2 separate regions of the Homo sapiens genome follow, and region 1 is linked to region 2. Evidence: promoter capture Hi-C in 16 types of primary human blood cells and fetal thymus (Javierre and others, 2016). All regions are on one chromosome and are shown on one strand. The core of a region is centred on a gene start or on the middle of the fragment in contact, and the rest is flanking DNA. Distances in the headings are between cores, read along the strand shown. Region 1 overlaps GUCY2F (guanylate cyclase 2F, retinal). Region 2 holds the start of RTL9 (retrotransposon Gag like 9).

What was found. The method cuts DNA at HindIII sites, captures the fragments that hold promoters and counts their contacts. A CHiCAGO score of 5 or more calls a contact.
Region 1: a fragment that was not itself captured here is called in contact with the fragment with the promoter of RTL9 in region 2 in 1 of 17 cell types (neutrophils); the score reaches 5.5 in neutrophils.

What each region holds. Positions count from the first base shown.
Region 1 is chrX:109,475,278-109,481,672 of GRCh38, forward strand. GUCY2F (guanylate cyclase 2F, retinal) reads right to left here. Exons shown (of 20, transcript NM_001522.3): 2 at 1-744. The coding sequence starts at 659. Among named protein-coding and RNA genes, the nearest start is that of GUCY2F, 3.6 kb to the right of the region's middle. The HindIII fragment of the contact is 1,473 bases long and covers 2,987-4,459 here.
Region 2 is chrX:110,353,961-110,360,945 of GRCh38, forward strand. It overlaps RTL9 (retrotransposon Gag like 9), which reads left to right and starts at 4,888. Exons shown (of 4, transcript NM_001385449.1): 1 at 4,888-4,956. It also overlaps a transcript of AMMECR1 not described here. The HindIII fragment of the contact is 7,244 bases long and covers 1,061-6,985 here.

The DNA of each region.
Region 1 (6,395 bases), core at 2,473-4,972, 880 kb before region 2:
AGGACGACCCCTACAGGTAAGCCGTGGCTCCGAAGAGCACTTGCGACTCGATTGGCTGTATGCACCCAAATGTCTTCATCTGAGGAAATGACTCCAGCATGAGCCCACTGGAAATATTTCATGACAGTTACAAGCACCCGGATGGGAGAAGGGAGTGTCCGAGAAAAGGTCGGGTAGCTAATTTTATTGTCTAATTCATAATTCACACAAGCCCAAGAGAAAATTCCTTTGTCCCAGCTGTTTCCCAGGAGCGAGGCTGCCTCGCAGTAGCCAGGGTTGGTAGGTCCAATAAATCCTGAGGCCATCTGGTGGTGGGAAATGAAACTGGAGAGAGCCCTCGAAGTCTGGCAGTCTTCATTGAGAATCACGTATTCAAAAGAATAACTCAGGTCAAAAGATGGGTCCCGGTTGATTCGCTCAATGGCTAATCGCGCAGCAACCTCAGGCAGGGCCTTTGAAAACAGCGAATCACAAGCCCAAGGGCCCACCACCCCTATCTTGTAGGGGAGTGTCCACACCTGCTGCGGAAGGGACATGACAGACAGAAGGCACAAGCACCACAGGAACTTGGCAGATGCAAGGCCATGGTGTCCCAGCAGTTTCCTGAAAGCCGCAAACCAGAGAACAAGGCGAGAAAAGCGCCCGAGTCCCAGGAACATAGCCCTCCTGCTTCCAGCAAGCTAATGACGAGATACTGGAGAGTTATTCTGCTTTCCCGACACAGACGGTGGTGTTTCCAAATGCCTGTCAATCAGAGGAAAAGGTTTGTTACTCACATTATTTCTGAAGCTTCTGGAAATCATCGGTTGTGAAAGAATGGCAAAAAAAAAAAAAAAATGGCAGTGCCCAAACTAAAAGTTTCTTTCCCCCATCCTGACAAAACTCCTCCTCTTCCTGTACCCCGTATCTCAGTACATGGCACATCCATCCACTGTTTGCCCACTTGCTTCTTTCAGAAAACTGGAAATCACTGAGACTCCTTCTCTTCCCCCACATTCAATCTATCACCAATTCCTATTTATTCAACTTCAGTAATAGCTGCCCACCTTACAGTGTTTTGAAAATTACATGAGTTAACACACGGCAAGTGCTTATAACAGAGCCTGGCAAGTCATTGGCATTATATTAGACATAGTATCATTATTATAGTTTTCAATATGTCCATTTTTCTCTCCCATACAGCTCTCTTGGAGAGAAATAGATGTAAACAGATAATAACAATGCAGAGTAAAAAGTGCTATGATTGAGGTAGCCCAAACAGAGAGACAGAGAGGATCACCTAAACCCAGATTTCAGGGGAGGAGAGAAGGGAGGAAGAACAGTCTCTCTGGATTGAGTACTGAAGAAAAGTTAGCCAGGTGAATGAAGTTGCAGGAGTAGTTTGGTGCTAAGATGCTAAGAGCCTTCCAAACAGAAGGAACAACATGCAGAAAGACCCAGAGGTAAAGATAGATAGATAGATAGATAGATAGATAGATAGATAGATAGATAGATAGACAGACTATATATATATGTGTGTGTGTATATATGTGCGTGTGTATATATATGTGTATATATATATGTGCGTGTATATATGTATGTGTGTGTGTGTATACATATATATATGGATTCTTAGAATTCTAAAGCATTTGTTCTGCTTGAGTCTGTGATGTCAGACAAGGCAAGGGCCAGATCACCAAGATATGCCATGATTGAATACTGTACCCAATGGTTTTAAGCAGGGAAATAGTATTATCAGATTTCCATTTTAAAGGATCTCTCTAGCAACAATGTGGAGAATGAGTTGGAAGAAAGCAAGACTGGAGGCAAAGAGACCAGTTTGGAGTCTGTCACAATAATCCATATGAGAAATGATGACAGACCAAGAGAGTGGTAGTGAAGACCTAGAGGAATGGGATCATCTCCTCCAAGATTAAAAATATCAAGATTAAGAAAACAGAAATAACAAGAACTTGGTGACTGACAAGATATAGAAGGTAAGTGAAAAGAAAGGAGGACTCTAGGATGATTTTGAGCTTTTCAGACCTAGGAAACTGATTGGAAAATGGCACAAGTCTCTGAGATAGGAAACACTGGAGGAAGGAGGTGGGAGAGACGATGCATTCTGATAGAGATCTTGAATTGGCCAACAAGTGGCAATATCCAGTAGATAACAGCACATACTGGAGGGCCTAGGAAAAAAATAGAAAGCTGAACAAGAGTTATAAATTCTTAATAGAAAGCTGAATAAGAGTTATAAATTTGAGTGTAATCAATTGATAGAGGGTAATTTAAAACATGCCTTTTGTGGAGTAAAGAAAGAAGACAAAGGACAAAACCCTGAGACCCCACAACACTTAAAGATAGGTCACAGAGATGTTAATAAGGAGAATCCTTAGTAAATCCTTAATTCTAATCAAAGATCAAAATAATGGCATAGCTTTCTTCAGGGCTGATAATCAGCGCTGGTGTGCACCAATCAGGCCAAACTGGTTGTTTATGGGCAGCAACAATTCTGTCTGTGCCAGCCCTGTTGGTTATTATCTTGACTCTCACTCCTAATTTTATGAGAAACCTTGACTCCTGAAGAGACCAATCTGAGGCATATCTAGTGAATCTTAAAGACCTACCACAAATAGTATGCCCCAACATTCGTATATTGGTGAAAGCTGATTTGAATGAGAGTCAAGAAAGTCTTGGGGGAGCAAACAGTTCACAAAACAACATAAGCCAGTGGCTGAGGGGTGTGTGGGATGGGGGAGGACTTCTAACTTTGCTTTGGGGACAGTGGAAAGATGATTCTGAGCTGATTATATGCATAAGAGCCTCAAATTTATTCCTAGGCCCTCAAAGATAATCCAGTCTAACCTGCCTCCAAAAAATTAGATCTATTCTGTGCACTATGTTGAATGCATGAGAGTGAGATACAGGATGGATGAAGTGTGAGGTGTTGACTCAGGCTTCAAAGAGCTCCCAACCCAGAGCTGAGCTCTAGTCAAGAGCCACAAGCTTCTCTTCCAGCTTCTTCCAGCCTCCCTCTTTTCTCTGCCATGGCAAAATTTGGGAGGCAGGACACTGTAGGAGCCACTCATCTGGAGTAATATGGGAAGGATCTCTATTTCTGGTCTGTATTGTGACAAGGATATTGAACTACATTATCTCTCTGTCCTTATAGGCCTCACTCTTTTGACCACTAGGAATGTGCAACAGTGAGGACAGCTCTATATGGGAAACAAAACCCTATTCACAGCAACAGGGCAAGAAAGCCGACATACTGCCTCTTCTTCCCCAAACACACTAGTTTCATGGGTTCCTTCCCAGTATCTGTGCATTTAATCCAGAAATTAGCACTTAGACTAACAAAGTCTAAGATATACTGAGTTCTTGCTGTGTGTCAAATGCTGGGCTACACTCTTTCCATGTATTGTCTCATTTTAAAAACTGAATTTAAAAAACTCATCACAGTCCTTTGAAGTAGGTGTTATTATCATCACTATTTACAGATGATGAAACTGAGGCTCAGAAAGGGTAAGTAACTTGCCTAAGGGCAAACCACGGTAGAATGGAGATTTGCACCCCAGTTGATTGAGCCCTGTGCTAGATAGAAGTTCTGCAGATAGCCCCTCATCTATGAAGTCAATGAGACTACCATTATTATACCTGCTATGTTACTCAAACTGAGTTCGAATCATTCATTTGCAGTTTAAAGAAGTTCCCCAGTCACCCATGAAAGAATAAATTAGGTAGAGTTGGGGAGGGGCAGAGTAAATTGGGAGGAGCCACCAAGAAATTCATTATCCAACCAGAAGTAATTTGCTACTAGTGTTCAAGCCTAGCCCTGGGACTGCCCACTGACTCCTCACTCAGGGCACAGTGCTGCACAGCTGGGGGTGGGGAGCACCAGTTCCACTGTATTCTATGTAAAGCTAATCCTAATCTTTGAGAATGGAAATCTTGAGGGTACACCCTTCAGCATATTAGCCCCAATTTTCAACTTCCTCATCTGCAAAGTGGGGGTAAATTTAATTTAATCATTTTGAGATAAAGAAGTAAATAAATTAGAATACTAAGTGCACAGTTGTCTTTCAATAAACACTGGTTCTTCCTCCCTATTTGGAAAGAGGACTGCACTGGGAATCAGAAGGCCAGGGTCCTGGACCCAATTCTGCACCAACTCACCATGTGACCTGAACAGATTGTTGCCTACTCTAGGTCTCTCCTTTTTCCCCTTTAGCTGGACTAGCAGATCAGCAAGTCCCTTTATTCTCTGACCTCCATCCATCCTGGGATTCTGTACTTTGTCTAGGCAGTTACTTTTCTAAACCTCTGCACTTTGAAACTGCTGAGTTCATTCAACATTTTCTAGCCTTTGCTGCTCTAATTAGCTTCTCACTGGAGTTGGATTCCCCCAAAGTACTTGCTTCTATCTGGTAGATCCAGTTCCTGATCATTTTTAATTTTGGCCTGGAATCCTCTGTCAAGCTTCTGTGATGTGAAGACCCCACTCCCCGACAATGCTGGAGTTATGCTACACTGAAAACCTGGGCTCCTAAAATCACTGGTTATCTTATTATCATTAATAACAAACACACGTTGAGAAGTTGGTCTGTGCTAAGACTAACTACAAAAAAAAAATGGGAGAGTATAAGGGCCTGGCCAAGAAATCTAAACAAGAAAAGCAAGCATGTACCTCAGGAGGGAGAAAACCAAGTTAGTAAGTTCCCTGCTTGCTTTTGCTTAACATTAAATCTCCAGTGCCCTTCGCAGTGCCTGACACATAGTAGGTGCGCAAAAAATATATGTTGAATTAATACTGAAGAGGAGATATGGAGCACAAATAAAATGTTTTGTATTACCATGTTATTTAAAATGCTCTATTTTAGGCCTTAATCAAGACCCACCTTTGGCAAAATTATCAAGGGGTAAAGTTTGTCTTCAGACTTCTAGCACAGCTCTCTCTGCCCTCTCGTTAATGGAGAGAAAACAACTCTAAAGAAAGAAACTCTTTAAATGATTTGCACTAATATGTAAATGAATGATAATATTTGACACTTTCCTGTATTCCTCCCCAACCAGTGGTGTTTGTTCTCTCTTAAGGGCTGGGGAGAAGTTTATGCCAAAATAATTAATCTCTAATAATATAATGTCTATTTCAAGCATCAGTTGCAGGTAGGCAAAGGAGGATGGACTACTTTTTGAGCAAAAAAATGAAGAAACTTTTGGTGCCCCTCAGATCAAAGTGATTAACTGTCCATTCTAGGTGTAAGGCTGGCATTTTTGTGTTATAATCCAGGTAACTCCTAAGCACAATGCCCACCCCAAATTCTAAAAAGTTAGATTTTTTATACCATTTCTAAAATTCATACAACACGGGTCCCTCCTCAGGCCACATGCCACAAAGTGTCCCTTGGCATTCACTCTCAGTTTTTGTTGCTCTTTTCCCTTTGTTAACTGCAAGATAAACATTTCCCAAGCTGAAGGTCTGCCCTTACATTTTTTCTGGTACCGATGTGATGCATTTGGTGATATTTCTAACTCTGTTAGGACTCCCTGGACAACCAGAAAGTTTTATGTTGCTGTAGGATTTAGTCTTGATCCCCCAACTCAAGATTTTACAGAAGGAAACTTATTCTTTAAAAAAGAAAAAAGAAAAAAAGAAGGGAAGGAAGGAAGGAAGGGAGGAAGAGAGAAGGAAGGAAAAGAGGAAGGGGGAGGAAGGGAGAGGGAAGGAGGGAAGAAGAGAAAGAAGGAAGGAAAGAAGGGGAGGGAGGAATGAAGGGAGAGAAGAAGGAAGGAAGGAAGGAAGGAAGGAAGGAAGGAAGGAAGGAAGGAAGGAAGGAAGGAAGGAAGGGAGGGAGGGAGGGAAAGAAAGGGGCAAGATAGGGGGAGGATGCCCTAAACCTCCACCTGCTGATTTTGGTTTAAGGAAAAAAATTAGCTCACTAAAGTCTTTCCTGGGGTTAATGGGAAATGTGGATATAACTAAAACAAAGTTTGAAGGTATGAAATTTTGGAAATAGAATACTACTGGCCCACAGTTGTTCTGGGGCCATTGCCTAGGTTACTCAGGTGTGAACACCTGCATGGGATCAGACTTCCATGGAAAGCGGCTAGAGCATAGGGATGCATAATTTCATTTCAGGTAGTTTTTACAATCTGATGGGAAGCCTGGCTTCACACAGAAAACCACCGTTCGTTAAACATGTACAAAGAAAGACTATGACAAATAGCTCTGAGGGAAATGGCTCCTCATACCAGCTTGTCAAGCCGAGGACTTCTATGAAAGATTGATTTGTCTTTCTAATTACAGCCTGAATCAAGTTAACAGCTTGTATAAGACAACATCAGGAAGCAATAAAAAAAGAATCATGAGAGAAACTAAACGAAAGCTTGGATGAGAGCCTTTGAGCTCAAAT
Region 2 (6,985 bases), core at 3,638-6,137:
AGTAGGTGAAAGATCTGTATAGTAAAAACTATAAAATATTGATGAAATAAATTGAAGAAAACACAAATATATGGAAAGATATCCCATGCTCATGGATTGGAATAATTAGTACTATTAAAATTTCCATACCACCCAAAGTGATCTACAGATTCAATGAAATTCCTGTCAAAATTCCAGTGTCATTTTTCACAGAAATAACAACCTAAAATTCATATGGAACCAGAAAAAACTCTTAATGGCCGAAGCAACTTTGAGTAAGAAGAACAAGGGTGGAGGCATCACACTCCCTGATTTCAACATACAGCGAGCCCTCTGTATCCATGGGTTTTGCACCTGTGGATTTGACCAACTGTGGATCAAAAATATTCCCAAAAAAGTGTCTGTACTTTACATGTACATACTTTTTTCTTGTTATTATTCCCTTTAAACAATATAGTATAAGAACTCTTTACATAGCATTTACATTGTATTAGGTATTATAAATAATCTAGAGATGATTTAAAGTAGGCACGAGGATGTGCATAGGTTATATACAAATACTATTCCACTTTATATCAGGAACTTGAGCATTTGTGGATTTTATTATCTGTGGGACGTCTTGGAACCAATCACTTATGGATACCAAGAGATAACTGTATATTAAATAAAGCTATTATAATCAAAACAGCATGATACTTGCATAAAGACAGACATATTGACCAATGGAACATGACAGAAAGCCTAGAAGCAAACCCAAGTATTTATGATAAATTGACTTTCAACAAAGGTGCCAAGACTATACAATAGGGAAAGGACAGTCTTTTCAATAAATGGTGTTGGGAAAACTGGATATCCACATGCAGAAGAATGAAACTAGACCCCTATCTCTCACCAATTCGAAATAAATAAACTTGAACATACGACCTGAAACTGTAAAACTACTAGAAGAAAATAGGGAAAAAGATCCACAGCATTGGTCTGGACAATGATTTCTTGGCAACAAGAAAAAGCAGAGGCAACAAAAGCACAGACATAGGCGACAAAAGCAACATTAGACAAATGAGATTGCATCAAACTAAAAAGCTTTTGCACAGCAGATGAAACAATTAATAGAGTGAAGGGACAGCTCACAGATTGGTAGAAAATACCGGGAAACATGTATCTGACAAGGGGCTAATATCCAAAATACATAAGGAAATCAGACAATTCAATCACAAGAAAACAACCTGATTAAAAAATGGGCAAGGCAGGAGTTCAAGACCAGCTTGGGCAATGAAGCAAGACCCCTGTCTCTACACAATTATTTTTTAATTAGCAGGATGTGGTGGTGCACACCTATAGTCCTAGCTACTCAGGTTGGTGAGGTGGGAGGATCACCTGAGCCCAGAGGCTGGAGGTTGCAGTGAGCTGTAATTGTGCCACCACACTTCAGCCTGGGCAACAGAGCAAAACCCTGTCTCTAAAGTTTTTAAAAATTTAAAAACATGGGCAAAGGATTTGGATAGACATTTCTTAAGAGTTGTGAATTGCCAACAGATATGTGAAAAAAAATGCTCAACATCTATACTCATCAGGGAAATGCAAAGTAAAACCACAATGAGGTATCATCTGTTAAAATGGCCATTATCAAAAAGATGAGTGATAAGTGTTGGTGAGAATATGGTGAAAAGAGAATCCTTGCACACTGTTGATTGGAAGGTGAATTCATATAACCATTTGGAAAACAGTATAAAGGTTCCTCAAAAAACTAAAAATAGAATTACCGTATGATACAGCAATGTCACTTCTGGGTATAAATCCAAAGGAATTGAGATCAGTATGTCAAAGAGATATCTGCACGCCCATGTTCATTTTAGTATTATTCACAATAGTCAAGATGTGGAAGCAACCCAAATGTCCATCAACAGATGAATGGATAAAGAAAATGTAATACCTATACACGATGGAATACTATATAGCCTTAAAAAATAAGAAAATTCTATCATTCAAAACAACATGGATGGAACTGGAAGATACTATGCTATGTGAAATAAGGCAAGCACAGAAAGATAAATATTGTGTGATCTCCTACGTGAAATCTTAAAAAGTGGATATCATAGAAACAAAGAACAGAAAGGTGGTTACCAGAGGTTAGTGGGGAGGAGGAGGGTTGGGGAAAGGGAAGATGTTGATCAAATTATATAAAATTTCAGTGAGACTGGAGGCATAACCTTTTTTTTTTTTTTTTTTTTGAGACAGAGTCCTACTCTGTTGCCCAGGCTGGAGTGCAGTGGCAGCATCTCGGCTCACTGCAACCTTCACCTCCTGGGTTCAAGTGAGTCTTCTGCCACAGCCTCCAGAGTAGATGGGATTACAGGCATGTACCTCCACACCCAGCTGATTTTTGTGTTTTTTTAGTGGAGACGGGGTTTCACCATGTTGGCCAGGCTGGTCTCAAACTCCTGACCTTAGGTGATCCACCTGCCTCGGCCTCCCAAAGTGCTGGGATTACAAGTGTGAGCCACCACACTGGCCAACTAGAGGAATAACTTTTAGTGATGTATTGCACTACATGGTAACCACAGTTAATAATAATATATTGTGTATTTCAAAATTGGTAAAAGAATAGCTTTTTAATGTTCTTACCACAAAATAATGATAAATTAGCGAGGTGATAGATATGTTCATTAGCTTGATTGAATCTTTCTATAATATACACATAGATCAAAACATCACATTGTACCATATATATATATACACACCTTATCATTTGTCAATTAAAAATAGTTTTGAAAGGAAAAAATAATAATATTTTGTAAGTATTATCATATTTAATGTCCACATCCCTTATGACATATAATATTATTATCCTCATTTTACAGATGAGATAACTAAAGCTCAGAGAAGTGCAGTTACTTGCCTGAGGTTGCATAGTTAGCAAGAGAGCAGAAGGAAAATGGAATCACTTCTCCCTGATTTTCAAGTCTGTGTACCTAACTACTACATTACAAATTTTGCATTCTTATATTAAAATATTGAAATGAGTAGCTCAATGAATTTAGCATCTATTTTTAAGCATTTTGAGAATTACTTTTCAAAATTCTTCATTTCTTTCTTCTTTCTTCAAACTAATTCATTAGTTTGAATTTTGCAAATAGAAAAATGAGAACTGAGTATGTATACATTAGCTTAGATCTATTAGTATAGATCACACATATACATGAAATTTAACACTCTATTTTTGAAAGATTTAAATGAAAATTTAATAACATTTTTAGATAAATACATGGGAAAATCAAATATTTGGTGGTCCTCCAAAGTAACGTAGGTGTATCTAATATGTTTCACAGCAAGTGTTGAGTGATAGATATACATAAAATCAGAAAAGAAAAAGTAACCACTTCATAAATCTTATAAATTGTGCCTTTTTACACTTTTTACTTTTTTAAAAGTATTTCAGCTTTTAATTTATTTGATTAGAACCATTTGAGAGACTGTTTCCTTGATATGAAATGCAAGCACACTCATTAGTGATCATGGTCAAGACCAAATGGCCAGTTTCTGCCAGCAAACGATTAACTTTGATGACAGATGTGTAAACCAAAAATAATTAAATTATTTGGTAATCATTCTTCCTTGCTGTAGGCTTTAAATAGTATTAGATCTTTGGGCATGAAATATATTTAATCCAGTTGTTAGATATAGTTACATTTTCAAAGCTGGATGAATCTTGTATTCTCACTGAGTACAGTTCTCCAACTGATGTGTCAAGGATGATGCTTGTATAACTATAGGAGGGAAATCCTCTGTGATTAATGCATGCAGGAGAAAATACTATGCTCTTCCCTGTGGGTGCAGGGCATGTTTCTACATACCCACATTGTGTGGGAAGCAGAGTGGTTATACTTGCCCTTCTTGGATTTTTTCTCAAGGCAAGACCCTGGCCTCATCCTCCAAATGCATGTTCCAGTCCCTCTCTCACATCAGGGGTGTTTACGAGACTGACTTGGATAACTTTTGCAAAATATACTTGCCTGGCCCTCTGTCTCCCCATTGGACATTTGTTTCATGAGGAGTATCATTTCTAGGGTAAAAGCAAGGATTTTGAAAAAAAATTCTTTGCCATTTTATCAGAAGAATTATATTTAATGAAATTAAAAATAAAAATAGGTGATTTTGATGTTCACCCTAGGCTAAGAGGACCACTGCTGTCTTTGAGGCATTTACAGACATATGGAAATCTGAAGCATACTTAGAGTTGCGGGTTCTTTCTCTGTAATTCTTTTAAACTGGGCATAAACCTCAAAGGGAGTGTAAAATGCAGAGTGTTGTCAACTTATCACACCAAGAATATTTTTTTGCACCTTTTTAGTTTGGAAGGGTCAAATTGAGATGACAGAGGAATAGTGGATAAGAGCTATAGTGCTATTAAATTACATTCTAGAGTTGGGAAAATCGAGACCCATAATCCTAGGAATTATTAATGATAAGAGCTAACACTTTCTGAGTGCTTACCACATGCCAGGCCCTATACTGAATGCATCATGTCCATTTTCTCATTTGATCCTGACAACCACCTGTGAGGCCTCATTTTGAAGACAAGCAAGCTGAGGCTCAGACCTTGGATTTGTCCAAGGTCACTCAGTTGGTCATTTACAGAGCCCTGATTCAAACTCTCTTTTGCTTGATTACAAAGCCATTGCTCTAAAAGATTAGATTATACTGTCTGTATTTGCTTCTGGGAGCTTATGGAATTCACTCCTATCTGTTCTCACAAGGAACTCTATTGGGTTTTGAAAAAGGCTAAAGAATTGAAAAGAAACTTTGTAGGCTGGGAAACATAGTGTCCTTTGAGCAGTGAGATAGGCTAAGCTCAGAGGACTGGGCTCTGGAATGTGGAAAGGAGACGTGCCCACTGGAGAGCAAGTCAGAACTTTCGTGAGCCCTGCTCCAGGTCCCAGGAGAAAGTGCCAGCCATGAGGACTGGAGTATTGCCTGGTAAGGAGAAGATTATTATTTTATCTAACACGTTCTTCTATAACGCTCTATATGCTAGGCACTGGTCTGCACTGCTCTAAGTACTTTATAAGTATTAACTCCTTTACATCTTATAACACTTCCCTGGAAATAGGCATTATTATTGCCCCCATAATACATATGAGTAAACTGAAGTTCAGAGATGTTAAATAACTTGTTCAAGGTCACATAGCTGGTTAAGTGCCAGAGCCAGGCTTTGAACCTAGGCAGTCTGGATCTAGTGGCTGTGTTATACTGCTTCGCAACAGAAACTTGATTTTTCTTTCTTCTGTGTTTATCATCCTTTCTCAATCACTCCTGGGCAAGTCTACTTTGCTAGCAAATTTCCCTTACCCCTTTGGCTTTTTTTTCACCCATGAACCCTCTAATGTTTTCTGCAGCTTCTTTGAGCTCATTCTTTATCTTCCACACTGCCTCTTTTGGCATTACTCATGAACGACATGCTCTTTTCATCTGCCAAATATTTTTTCCATAAATTATCCCATCTCAACTTGGGAAGTCACAATGGGAAGTATTGTTCCTATTTTGTGAATGAGGCAACTAAGGCAAGCAACTTTCCTGAAGTCTCACACAACCATCTAGTGGCAAAGTGCACTAGAATCCAGATTCTCTGATTCTGAATCTAATGTTCTTGTCCATTGCACCATCTGATGGAATTTAACTATCTATTCATTAATTAATTTATTCATTAATATTGTAAAAATATACTGAGTGTCTTACTGTATGGTAAGGCCCTGGGTGCAAAAGTCGGTATAAAAATTGTTGCTCTTAAGCAACAGACAACACAGAGAGATAAGGTCTCACCATAAAAAGTTAAATAGCAGCACATATACTAAGTGCCAAATGAGTGGTCTGGTCACATCATACAAGAATTTTGAGGTTGGATATGTAGCATCAAAGACTGCTTTATCAGAAAGGTGAGACTTGAACTTGGCATAGAAGGGTACTTAGAACTTAGAGAAGAGAATGGAGCAGCACTTTCCAAACTCTGGGAATGGTGTGCATTAAAGCAGTCCTTCACAACCTTTATTGTGTCATGGCATGCAGAGAAAAGCATAGTATTTGTAAAGCACACTAGGCTGAATGGAGGAAGCAGTTTGACATCTAGAGGCAAGCATTCTAGGAGTTTCAACAGCACTGTCTCTGGGCTCAGTTGAGGACAGAGAAGAAATCTCATAGCCTCAGACACTTGTAATATGTTTGGGAAGGTCTGCACTAGGTATTGGGGGCACACTGTGGTCATGGTGGGTCTAAAGACCACTGACAAGCCCACAGGGATGAAATGAGGGGAATTTCCAGAGAAGCCATAGTAGATACCATTGGAAAGAAAAGTTATGGGCAAATGATGAAGGGCTTTTGAATTTTATTCTGTGGACCTACAGAATAGGTAGGCAAAATATGCATAGCACTGTTTTAGAAAGATTCCACTGGTTTTCATATGGGAGATTAACTAGAGGGAAGAAGAGTAGTCAAGAGGCTATTACCATTGTCCAGGTGGGAGGTGATGTTATCTTGAACTAGATTGATAGTAATAGAGACAGAGAATGGTGGACAGAATTGAGTTATATTTTGGAGGTAAAAATGTCAGGGTTTGGTAATAGAATTGCATAATGGAGAGTAGAAGAAAGGGAGGTGACAAGGAGGATTTCAAATTTTCAAGTTTAAGCAAATGCTTATGAATAGTGATGCCATTCTTTAAGATAGAGAGCCCAGGAGAAGTAGAAAGATTTTTTTGGAGGGGAAGGACAAATGAGATGATGAGTTTCAAGTTGACATTTGGAGGCAAGGAAACCAGTTAGGAGGCTATTGTAAAAGCCAAGTAAGACAAGGTGAGATCCTGGACTACAATGGTAGCAGTGGGAATGGAAGGAAAATGGTGAATTGAGAGACATTATACAGGAAGAATTGATAGGATTTTGTCACGGACTGACTTCTGGAGTTGAAAGGTAGAGGAAGGCTTGAAGCCTAAGATATCTTCTGTCCTTTATCT